3 separate regions of the Homo sapiens genome follow, and all the other regions are linked to region 2. Evidence: promoter capture Hi-C in 16 types of primary human blood cells and fetal thymus (Javierre and others, 2016). All regions are on one chromosome and are shown on one strand. The core of a region is centred on a gene start or on the middle of the fragment in contact, and the rest is flanking DNA. Distances in the headings are between cores, read along the strand shown. Region 1 overlaps NPAS2 (neuronal PAS domain protein 2). Region 2 holds the start of NPAS2 (neuronal PAS domain protein 2). Region 3 has its middle 7.3 kb from the start of LINC01849.

Evidence for each region. The method cuts DNA at HindIII sites, captures the fragments that hold promoters and counts their contacts. A CHiCAGO score of 5 or more calls a contact.
Region 1: a fragment that was not itself captured here is called in contact with the fragment with the promoter of NPAS2 in region 2 in 1 of 17 cell types (endothelial precursors); the score reaches 6.4 in endothelial precursors.
Region 3: a contact is called between a fragment that was not itself captured here and the fragment with the promoter of NPAS2 in region 2, in 3 of 17 cell types (naive CD4 T cells, non-activated CD4 T cells and activated CD4 T cells). The highest score is 6.2, in naive CD4 T cells.

The regions. Positions count from the first base shown.
Region 1 is chr2:100,965,897-100,969,305 of GRCh38, forward strand. NPAS2 (neuronal PAS domain protein 2) reads left to right here. Exons shown (of 21, transcript NM_002518.4): 11 at 2,385-2,532. Among named protein-coding and RNA genes, the nearest start is that of NPAS2-AS1, 9.6 kb to the right of the region's middle. The HindIII fragment of the contact is 1,523 bases long and covers 778-2,300 here.
Region 2 is chr2:100,818,382-100,821,893 of GRCh38, forward strand. It overlaps NPAS2 (neuronal PAS domain protein 2), which reads left to right and starts at 1,758. Exons shown (of 21, transcript NM_002518.4): 1 at 1,758-2,033. The HindIII fragment of the contact is 7,542 bases long and covers 1-3,512 here.
Region 3 is chr2:100,594,923-100,597,987 of GRCh38, forward strand. No RefSeq gene overlaps it. Among named protein-coding and RNA genes, the nearest start is that of LINC01849, 7.3 kb to the right of the region's middle. The HindIII fragment of the contact is 4,254 bases long and covers 1-3,065 here.

The DNA.
Region 1 (3,409 bases), core at 289-2,788, 150 kb after region 2:
TCTCTGAGATGATCTGGGGGCATGGTGGAGGCCCCTTATCCGCGTCTACCCCCATGTCACTGGAATTCACTTGGCCCCAAACCCTAGCACCTTCCCACTGTCATCCAGATAGGCGCCCTGTTTAAACCTAATTAAGAAATTAAGGTGATGCAGGGATTTTTTTTTTTAAGTTATGCAATACATTTCAGAGATAAAATACCGAATTCTCATAACTGTTCTTTCATCAGCAGATAAGTATTGGTCACTAACCATAGGCCAGATACTGAGTAGGCTGGCATATGGGGATGATCAGTACCTACTTGCTGTCCCGCAGGGCAGGTCTTCTGGGAAAGCCAGAAATGGGTGACTTTGTGGGATGTGGTCGGTGCATTGAAGGGGATGTACACAGCATACTGGGGGACTCAAGAGGACCCTCACAGCTGGGGTTCAGGGAAGGCTCTTTGCCACATACGAGGCGAACACATTAGCAAATGTATGGGGGATGGGACTTACGATGTGGGGGAGTGAGAATTACAAGCTTGTCCGAGTTCTCACTTAGCAAGTGGTTTCAAGAATTAACCACTTACAGCTGTATTTTCAGTGCCAACTCTTAACTTGAAATAGGAACACTGACCTATTGATCCTAATGCATGAATCGACCACTAACATTGTGCTTTAAAAGATGCCTCACCTGTAGTACCCATTAGAACTTTTTTTTTTTTTTTTTTTTTTGAGACAGACAGATTCTCGCTCTGTCACCCAGGCTGGAGTGCAGTGGCGCAATCTCGGCTCACTGCAAGCTTCACCTTCTGGGTTCAAGCAATTCTCCCACCTCAGCCTCTAGAGTAGTTGGGATTACAGGCGTGTGTGCCACCACGCCCAGCTAATTTTTTGTATTTTTAGTACAGACAGGGTTTCACCATGTTGGTCAGGATGGTCTCAAACTCCTGACTTCAAATGATCTGCTCACCTCGGCCTCCCAAAATGCTTGGATTACAGGCATAAGCCACTGTGCCTGGCTAGAACTTTCTCTTCTGTGGAGAGGGAAGGAAGAATAGGCTTGAGTTCCATCTGGATCGGCTGTTAGAATTTAAAGCTAATCATTAAAACTGTAACTCCTTGCTCCTCAAAGCGTGGTCTAGGACCACACTGCATAGGCATCACGGGAAGTTTGCTACACTTGTAGAATCAGGCCTACTCAGAGTGTCTATTTTAACAAGATCCCGAAGTGAAGAATTACATTCAGCAATTGAAAGGCTTCTCCATGGCTTGGGCAAGACCTCCTTGCCCTGTGGAGCCCACACCCTCAATCTGCTGGGCTTATCTCCTCTTCAGATAATCACATTCTCCAAGTCAGTGTCCTTTTTTTTTTTTTTTTTTTTTTTTTTTGAGACAGAGTCTCACTCTGTCACCCAGTCTCGGCTCGCTGCAAGCTCCGCCTCCCGGGTTCACGCCATTCTCCTGCCTCAGCCTCGTGAGTAGCTGGGACAACAGACGCCCGCCACCACACCCGGCTAATTTTTTGTATTTTTAGTAGAGATGGGGTCTCACCGTATTCGCCAGGATGGTCTCGATCTCCTGACCTCATGATCCGCCTGCCTCAGCCTCCCAAAGTGCTGGGATTACAGGCATGAGCCCCTGTGCCCAGCCATCAGTGTCCTTTTGTAGCGTTAGTTTCCTAGTTGAGATTTCTCTTAACCATTTACCTAAAGAGGTGCTAAGTTCCAGGCACTATGGCAATAAAACCCAAATCATTCTTCTTCCTTGGATCCGTAGTCCATCTTTCTGCCCTGCCCAGGCTTGATACACCATCAGCATCCATTCTGCTCTGGACACCCCTAGAAAAGCCACCAGCAGACATCACTATGGGGGGGCTGCAAGCAGCTCTGGGGAAGGGGGAAGCCTGGGGTGGAGGCATCTGTCCCCGACTCTTTATTTGAGAACTGTGTCGACTGGGCATGAACTGCTGACTGGCAGCCACAGAATCCGTCCAGAGGTTGCTGGCTGGCAGGTCTGTTTTCGGGCCAATTCTGGATGCTCTCTCCTGGGCTCCTGCAGCTCCAAAGACAGCTCTGCCTGCGGCGGGAGGATGAGCACCAGGCAAACCTGAGCCTCTGTTTCATTAAACCTGCAGTTTGAAAATCTGTCTGCATCTGCCCTTATCTGAGGATCTCTTTAAGCGTCTGAGCATTTGGGAAAGTATATGGATCACTCTTCCACTGTTTAAGAATTCACGACAGTGTACCGTGATCCTGACAGTCACTTAAAATACAGGGCAACCGGGGAAACAAGCCATGTTTGGTATTGTCTTTTTTTTTGAAAGCTTATCTTTACAATAACTCTTGGGGAAAAGATCATTTTCATATTAACATTGGTTATATGCGGAATCCATTTTCTACCGACAGTGATGCAGTTTGGCAAAGGGAAGTCGTGTTGCTACCGGTTTCTGACCAAAGGTCAGCAGTGGATCTGGCTGCAGACTCACTACTACATCACCTACCATCAGTGGAACTCCAAGCCCGAGTTCATCGTGTGCACACACTCGGTGGTCAGGTACCGCGCACGGGCAGGGGTGCGGCTGCGTCCTTGTCGCACCTGGGGGAGGGGTGCAGGATGGCGTGGCCCCTGATGGCCAAGTCAGATCAGCAGTCACTCAGGTGTTCCCCATTTCGAAGATGAAGCCCAGGCCATCCCCTGCCGTTAACAGCACAATTCCCAGAGCTCAGCTCGCTTCCAGGCACCACTGGCTCTGCCCTCCCAGGGCTGAGACTCCTTTCAAGCTCTCAGTCAGGCCCCTTTGAACGCCTCATGGACTCTCGCAGGCTGCCAGGATATTACTTAGTAAGTGACTGCTTCACTGACCTACTTACATATTTTCCCATCTCTATCCAGCCCACAGCCTTCCCTTGTTCCTGCTTTGAGTAGAAAATTTAAATTTTACCTCTAAATAACTCAAACACATATTCCCCTTTATTTTTAATGCTTTAAAAACCCCTGCTGGCAACTGAGGCAGTGTTGGGAAAACAGCCTGGCTGCCAGTGGGCGCGGGTTCCTGGGAGGTCCCTGCTGGCCTCAGGGAGCCCTCCACCCAGGGCGGGTGAGCAGGACTTTAAAGAGACGCGGCATGCCCAGGGTTTCATAGATGCTGCCTTTGTGGGGTCACTGTTCCCAAGGATGAAGGGGAAAATGGTCTTCTCCCCGACTACGGAAATTTTAAGAACGTAAATTAGTTTTAAGCTGGCCTACAGAGGAGCCTTGGAGAAGGGCAAAGAAAGAAAAGTTGGAAGGACAGCATGCCTTTCTTTTTTTTTTTTTTTAAACTTTAAGTTCTGGGATTCGTGTACAGAATGTGCAGGTTTGTTACATAGGTATATATGTGCCATGGTGCATGGTGCCATGCACCTATCAACCCATCATTTAGGCTTTAAGC
Region 2 (3,512 bases), core at 508-3,007:
TTCAGGAGGAGAATTAGACACAAATAATACAAGTGGGAAATAAAGAGAATGACCTACTTTACAGGGGGGGTAAAAAGGAGCTCTGTGTGAGCGTTTTGATCTAATTGACGGTGTGGGGTTGCATGCCCAAATAAGGCGCTGCTGGTCGGATCTGCGAGGGAGAGGGCACGTCTCAAACTCGAGGGAGAGGACGAGACAGCGAGAGGAACAGCGTCCGGGGCGACCCCCAGTCCACCGCGGGGGCCTGGCGCGCTTGGGGCAAAGGCCCTAGGAGACCCCTTCTGGCCACAAAATCGAGTATGACAGAAAAGGGCCAGCGGGGGCGCTTTCCTTCCAGGGCCACTTGCCGGAATGTAAGAGGGACGGAGAGACGTCCGGAAAAGGCTGCCACGCTCGGAGCGCTGCGCCAGGCCAGGCACCTAGGCCAGGGGAGCGGAGACCTCGTGGGAGCGGGCAGGGGGACCTTTCCCCTCTCCCGGGCTTCCACCCAGGCGCCTCCCCGCTGTGAACGCCGCCGCCCAGGTGAAGGGGAAACCGGCCACGTTTCCGGACCTCGGCGGGGCACACGGTCTCCGGTTTTCACCGGCTCTGTCTTGGAGCCCCGAAGGGCATCAGACAGCAGCCCCGGCACCCGGGGATTATTCCTGTACCTCTGCCTCCCTCCGCTTGGCGTTTGCGGGAACCTTGGTAAAATCCTCCCTGTTTCTCGCGCGCGCCTCTCTCTCCAGCTTCTTTTTCTTGGATTCTCGCCTGTCTCCTCCCACAGAGGAAAAAAAAAAAAAGGTCACGTATGTTTGGAAAAATATGTAGGTCAGTGGAACATTTCCTGCACTGGTGCAAAAGGAGAGGAGGGCAGCGGAGGAGGGGAGGGAGAGGCAGAGTGGAGCTCCAAGTGCCCGCTCCTGGCCGCAGCCCCACACCCCACGTGCCCCTGCCGGGGAGGGGGGCAATTAGCCGGTTCCTTTCCATCCTTGACCCATTTTCCGGACCAGCTACGTTCGCCTTAGGACAGGCACTGGTTATTCCTCCCCAGCAGTCGCTGCTGTCCTCCGCCGACCACCGCTCGCCCGCATCTTCCCCGACCCCCGCCTCCCACCTGCCCCCGGGCCGCACCCCCGCCGCTCATTGAGAAATCGCAGTGGTCCCCGCAGAGACGCGCTTTGTGCCCTGGGTCGAGACCTGCGCGCAACCCTGCCCCTGGAGGACAGTGTGGAGGGGGTGACAGTCGCGTGCTCGTCCCCCTTCATCCCCTGCGCGGGACAGCAGGGTGGCGGCCCGCACTGCGAGGGTCTACACTAGGCGGGGGCGGCAGATTCCTTGTTCCCCCCGAGTGACAACTTTAATGGGACCTCGGCTGGCAGCCTCTAGTCCACTTGCCTCTCCTCTGGGCCGGCTCACCTGGAAGCACAACCCCCCCCTCCCCCAGCCCCGGCGCCCAACCCCGACCCTGCGCCCCAGGCCCGACCCCGCCGCGCGTCCCTGGCAGCCCAGCAGAGGCTGCGGCGGCCTGGGGACTCGCGGGTGTCTGCGCCGCCCAGGGAAGCCGGGGGTCTAGGGGGCCGGGGGTCCGTCTGCCTGCGGCGCGCGCGGGGTGCTTGTCCCAGGCTGGGTCGGGGCCAGGAGAGACCCCGCAGGCGGAGGCAGGCGAGGGGAGGAGGAGGAGGGTGGGGGTAGGAGGGGGAGGTGGAGAGGGAGGAGGGTGGAGGGAGGAGGCAGGGGAGGAGGCAGAGGCGGAGGCGGCTCTCCCCGCCGGCTCTGCGTGCGGAAGAGTTTGCCGCGCGAGCAGCCGGCCTCTCGCAGGAGCCGAGGGACCCGCGCGGCTGCGGCCCAGGAGCGGCGGCCGCGGAGCCCGGAGACCCGCAGCCGCGGCGGCGGCGGCGGCGGCGGCAGCAGCTAGAGCAGCGCCTCCCGCCGCCGCCCGGGAGGAGCTCGCCGCGCCCGCTCGCCGCCTCGTCTCCCAGCGGCGGCGGGAGGCGCGTCTCCCCGGCCCAGTCCGCGCCCGGCCCCGCGGGGCCGCTCCGGCCCGCTCCGAGGTAAGGGGCCGCGCCTAGGGGCGCGGGGGACCCAGGGTGGGTAGTACGTGCGCGCGGGGTCGCAGGACTCGGTCACCTGCTCGCCAGCGTGGAGGACGCGCGGGGGCGGAGGGGCGCTCAGGCGCGAGGCTGCGCGGCACCGGGGACCCCGGACGCGGGGGCGCGGAGAGGTGGGTTCCCCTCCACAGTCAGGCCGCTGGGGGCTTCGCGTCCTGCAGGAGGTAGCAATCGCTGGGCCGGTGGGCTCCGGGCGCGTCTCGACGCAGAAGACAGAGGACTGGGCATCCGAGCCTCGGAATTTGGGGGTCCTCGGGGTGTCCGACAGGGTGGAGAAGGATCGTGCCCCAGGGCAACAGCTTTGGGGATTGCCCGTGGTTGTCTTCGAGACCCATCGCGCTACCCTCCGAAACGTCGGGCGTCCTGGACCCCCGGAGAGTGCGGCGTGCGCGCCCTGGGCCCGCGGTCTCTCGGAGTCCCTGGGTCGGAATTGGTTCCGGGCCGGATTGGGTGCGGAATCGGTGCCCCCAACCCCCGTGTGCGCAGACAGCGTGCAGCCTGGCTCCTCACGTCGCTGCCGCCCCCCCACCCCAACTCCGGAGCTCCCCAGGTTGGATGTATGCGTATGGTTTTGTTGGGAGATGTGCCCCTTTCCCAGCCGAGGAGGGACGCACCTTTGACCTTTCTGAAGAGCTGGGCAGGTCGGTAACCAGGGAAGGGACAGGCACCACCCGGCTAAATTCAGAACCAGTCCCGCTCCTCTGCTTGCCACTCCTTAATTGCTCAAGGTAAGAAAGTTTGTTTCAGCCCTGTGATTCATAAATAATTAGTAACTAGTTTTGTTGATTAAGCAAGATGGAAACCTTGAATATACGCACGCACTTCCACAAAGTCTAAACACTCCCGAGCTTGTGTCCGGGAGGCTTTAGTACGGAAAGTTAGAAGCCCTGGAGTTCAACAGGTGTTCAGGAGGGTCCCGGAGAGGAGTTTCGTCTTTACGCGTTGCTTTGGCATCCACCCCAACTTCATTAAAGTGGTTAGCCTGTTTTCCTACAGGTAAAACATTGATCACTTATTAAATTAACTTAATCAGCAGAGACGAGCTAAACCGTCTTGATCATTTAGAACCCAAACCTTATTTTCCTTAATAGAAAGGTTTTTCCTGTTTGAACTTCCCAGGTAATTAGTTCTAAAGTAGTTCCCAGCAAGACATCTCTGCCAGCATCTCTCTCTCACTGTAGCTTGGTCCCCATCAGTGAATTGACCAACTAATTATGGCTTGCATTAAACACAGAGCTGCCCTCCTTGGGAGGCACTGTTCACATTCAAGCGCACACACTAGCTCCATCTTCCTGCCACTAAGATGTCCTTAAAGGAAAAAGTTAGCCAAAAATAACCCCCAAATAAATAGTGTAATGTTTAAAAGAGTTATCCTGACCTGCGCCACTATTTTATAAAAGCAAAAATTCAGTGTTTCATTAC
Region 3 (3,065 bases), core at 433-2,932, 220 kb before region 2:
ATGTAACGTGCAATAACATGAGGTCTTCCTGTAAGTTGGTAAAGGTATTCCTAAAAATGTCCTTCCATTCAGAGTCCAGCTCTAGTGTCTTTTCTGCTAGTTTTGATGCTGGTGCTTTCTTGATCCCACCAGAAGGTGGCATGCAGTGACAACTTTCTTTTTCTTTTTTTCTTTTTTCGAGACGGAGTCTCACTCTGTCGCCAGACTGGAGTGCTGTGGTGCAATCTCAGCTCACTGCAACCTCCGACTCCTGGTTCAAGCGATTCTCCTGCCTCAGCCTCCTGAGTAGCTGGGATTACAGGCATGCACTGCCATGCCTGGCTAATTTTTGTATTTTTAGTAGAGACAGAGTTTCACCATATTGGCCAGGATGGTCTCGATCTCCTGACCTCGTGATCCACCCGCCTTGGCCTCCCAAAGTGCTGGGATTACAGGCGTGAGCCACCGCGCCTGGCCTGTGACAACTTGATCACAGCTGCCACCTGCCACAGTAACCATAAGATGCACCCTGACCTCAGAGATATTAACAATGAGGGGAGGATGCTTAGAACCCATGAAATGTTGTAGTTTTATCCCACAATAGATGAAGGTGTGTTAGGTTATTTTAACCTGACCCTTCTAGCTTTTAATTTTGAAGGCAGATCTTTAACTCCCTGAATCTGTTTATTGACATTTAAAATACTGAATATACCAACTTCCTGAGAAGAAAAAGGCTGTTAATATCCCTGGAATATATATAAAATACAACTTTAAAAAAAAAATTAAAAACCAGTACTTTTCTTTGGTAAGTAACTCTCTCTGAGATGACAATCAGAAAAATTTAAAGAAACCTTGCAAAATACAGCTACATGTTTTACATGAAAATTATACTTAATAAAAAGTTGAATAATTAACAAATCAATCCTTTGTCTTTTAGCAAATGTTACAGAAAAGCATCACAAACTTGCAACTTTTTGTTCCATCTGAGATTTGAGATACCTAAATGAAACAATGTATTACGTGCCTGCACCCAGACACACCCACACACACACACACACACGCACACACACACACACACGCACACACACACACACAGAGTAACTGCAATAACTAGATCCATGTCGGGGTGGATCTATCATCCCCACATTATCTCTCTGGGCACCAAAGGCTTTCTGACTCTGATTTGGTTTCTCAATCTTATTGGGAACAAAAAAAGTGAGAAGTCCAGTACCCTTGGCAGTTATCTTTTCTTGTTTTTCTTTTTTTCTTTTTTTTTTTTTTTGAGATGGAGTCTCGCTCTGTCCCCCAGGCTGGAGTGCAGTGGTGCGATCTCGGCTCACTGCAAGCTCCGCCTTCCAGGTTCTTGCCATTCTCCTGCCTCAGCCTCCCGAGTAGCTGGGACTACAGGCGCCCCCCACCAAACCCGGCTAATTTTTTCTATTTTTGGTAGAGACAGGGTTTCACCCTGTTAGCCAGGATGGTCTCGATCTCCTGACCTCGTGATCCGCCAGCCTCGGCCTCCCAAAGTGCTGGGATTACAGGCGTGAGCCACCGCATTGGGCCGGCAGTTATCTTTCTTAAGTAGCAGTTCTATTTCTCAGTATAAATTAATGCTGCAGTTCCTAAACCATTTGCTGAAGTGCCTCTGAACCCAGTAGCAAGTTCGTGGGCACAGGATAAGTTCTCAAGGGAAGCGCTGCAATACTGAACATTTATTGAATACTTCAGGAACCACCAGCTCCCAACAGTTCGCAGTTCCAATATTAGCTTGCGCTACATTCCTTTGATCTTTCTGAAGTTGGGTTTTTAGCGGTTGCTGTGATAAAAGCAGGTAGAGCTCAAATCAATGTGGAGCAGGATATGAGGGAGAGGTATCTCCAATTTCAAGGTTGGAGGACTTATGCAGCATCCAACAGGTACTTACTCACATTAATAGGTAATTTTCCTTTCACTTTTCATATATATTTGGTCAAGCATCTAAAAGTTTAAGACATAAAACCTTAATAAATTGTTTGACAAAAATAAAAATAAAAATAAATTGTTTGGCGCTAACTGCTTAATAAAAGTCGTTACAGTCTCGCTGAGTGTATGCGGGGGATTGGTGCCAGGACCACCAGCAAATAACCAAATCCTCGTACTCAATCCTGCAGTCAGCCCTGCAGAACCTGCCTATACGAAAAGGTGTTTTTAGGCTGGGTGTGTTGGCTCACGCCTGTAATCCCAGCACTGTGGGGGGCCAAGGTGAGCAGATGACTCGAGGTCAAGAGTTCAAGATCAGCTTGGCCAACATAAGAAAATCCCATCTCTGCTAAAAATACAAATATTAGCCAGCCGTGGTGGTGCAGGCCTGTAGTCCCAGCTACTCAGGAGGCTGAGGCAGGAACATTGCTTGAAGACCCTGGGAGGTGGAGGTTGCAGTGAGCTGAGGTCATGTCACTGCACTCCAGCCTGGGCAACAGAACAAGACTCCATCTCAAAAATAAATAAATAAATAAATAAATAAATAAATAAATAAATAAATAAAAGGTTTTGTTTTGTTTTGTTTTTTGTCTTTTTGAGACAGAGTCTCGCTCTGTTGCCCAGGATGGAGTGCAGTGGTGTAATCTCGGCTCACTGCAACCTCCCTCTCCTGGGTTCAAGCAGGTTTCCTGCCTCAGCGTTGCAGGTAGCTGGGATTACAGGTGTGCACCACCACACTCGGCTATTTTTTGTATTTTTAATAGAAATGGGATTTCGCCATGTTGGCCAAGCTGGTCTCAAACTCCTGACCTCTGGTAATCCACCCATCTTAGCCTCCCAAAGTGCTGAGATTACAAGCATGAGTCAATGCACCTGGCCCTAAAAGGTCTTATAGGCAGGTTTAACATCCGGAGAATACTGTCTTTTCTTTTCTTTTCTTTTCTTTTCTTTTCTTTTTTGAGACAGAGTCTTGCTCTGTAGCCTAGGCTGGAGTGCAGTGGCGCAATCTTGGCTCACCGCAAGCTCTGTCTCCCGGGTTCACGCCATTCTCCTGCCTCAGCCTCCCAAGTAGCTGGGATTGCAGGCACCCGCCACCACGCCCAGCTAATTTTTTGTATTTTTTAGTA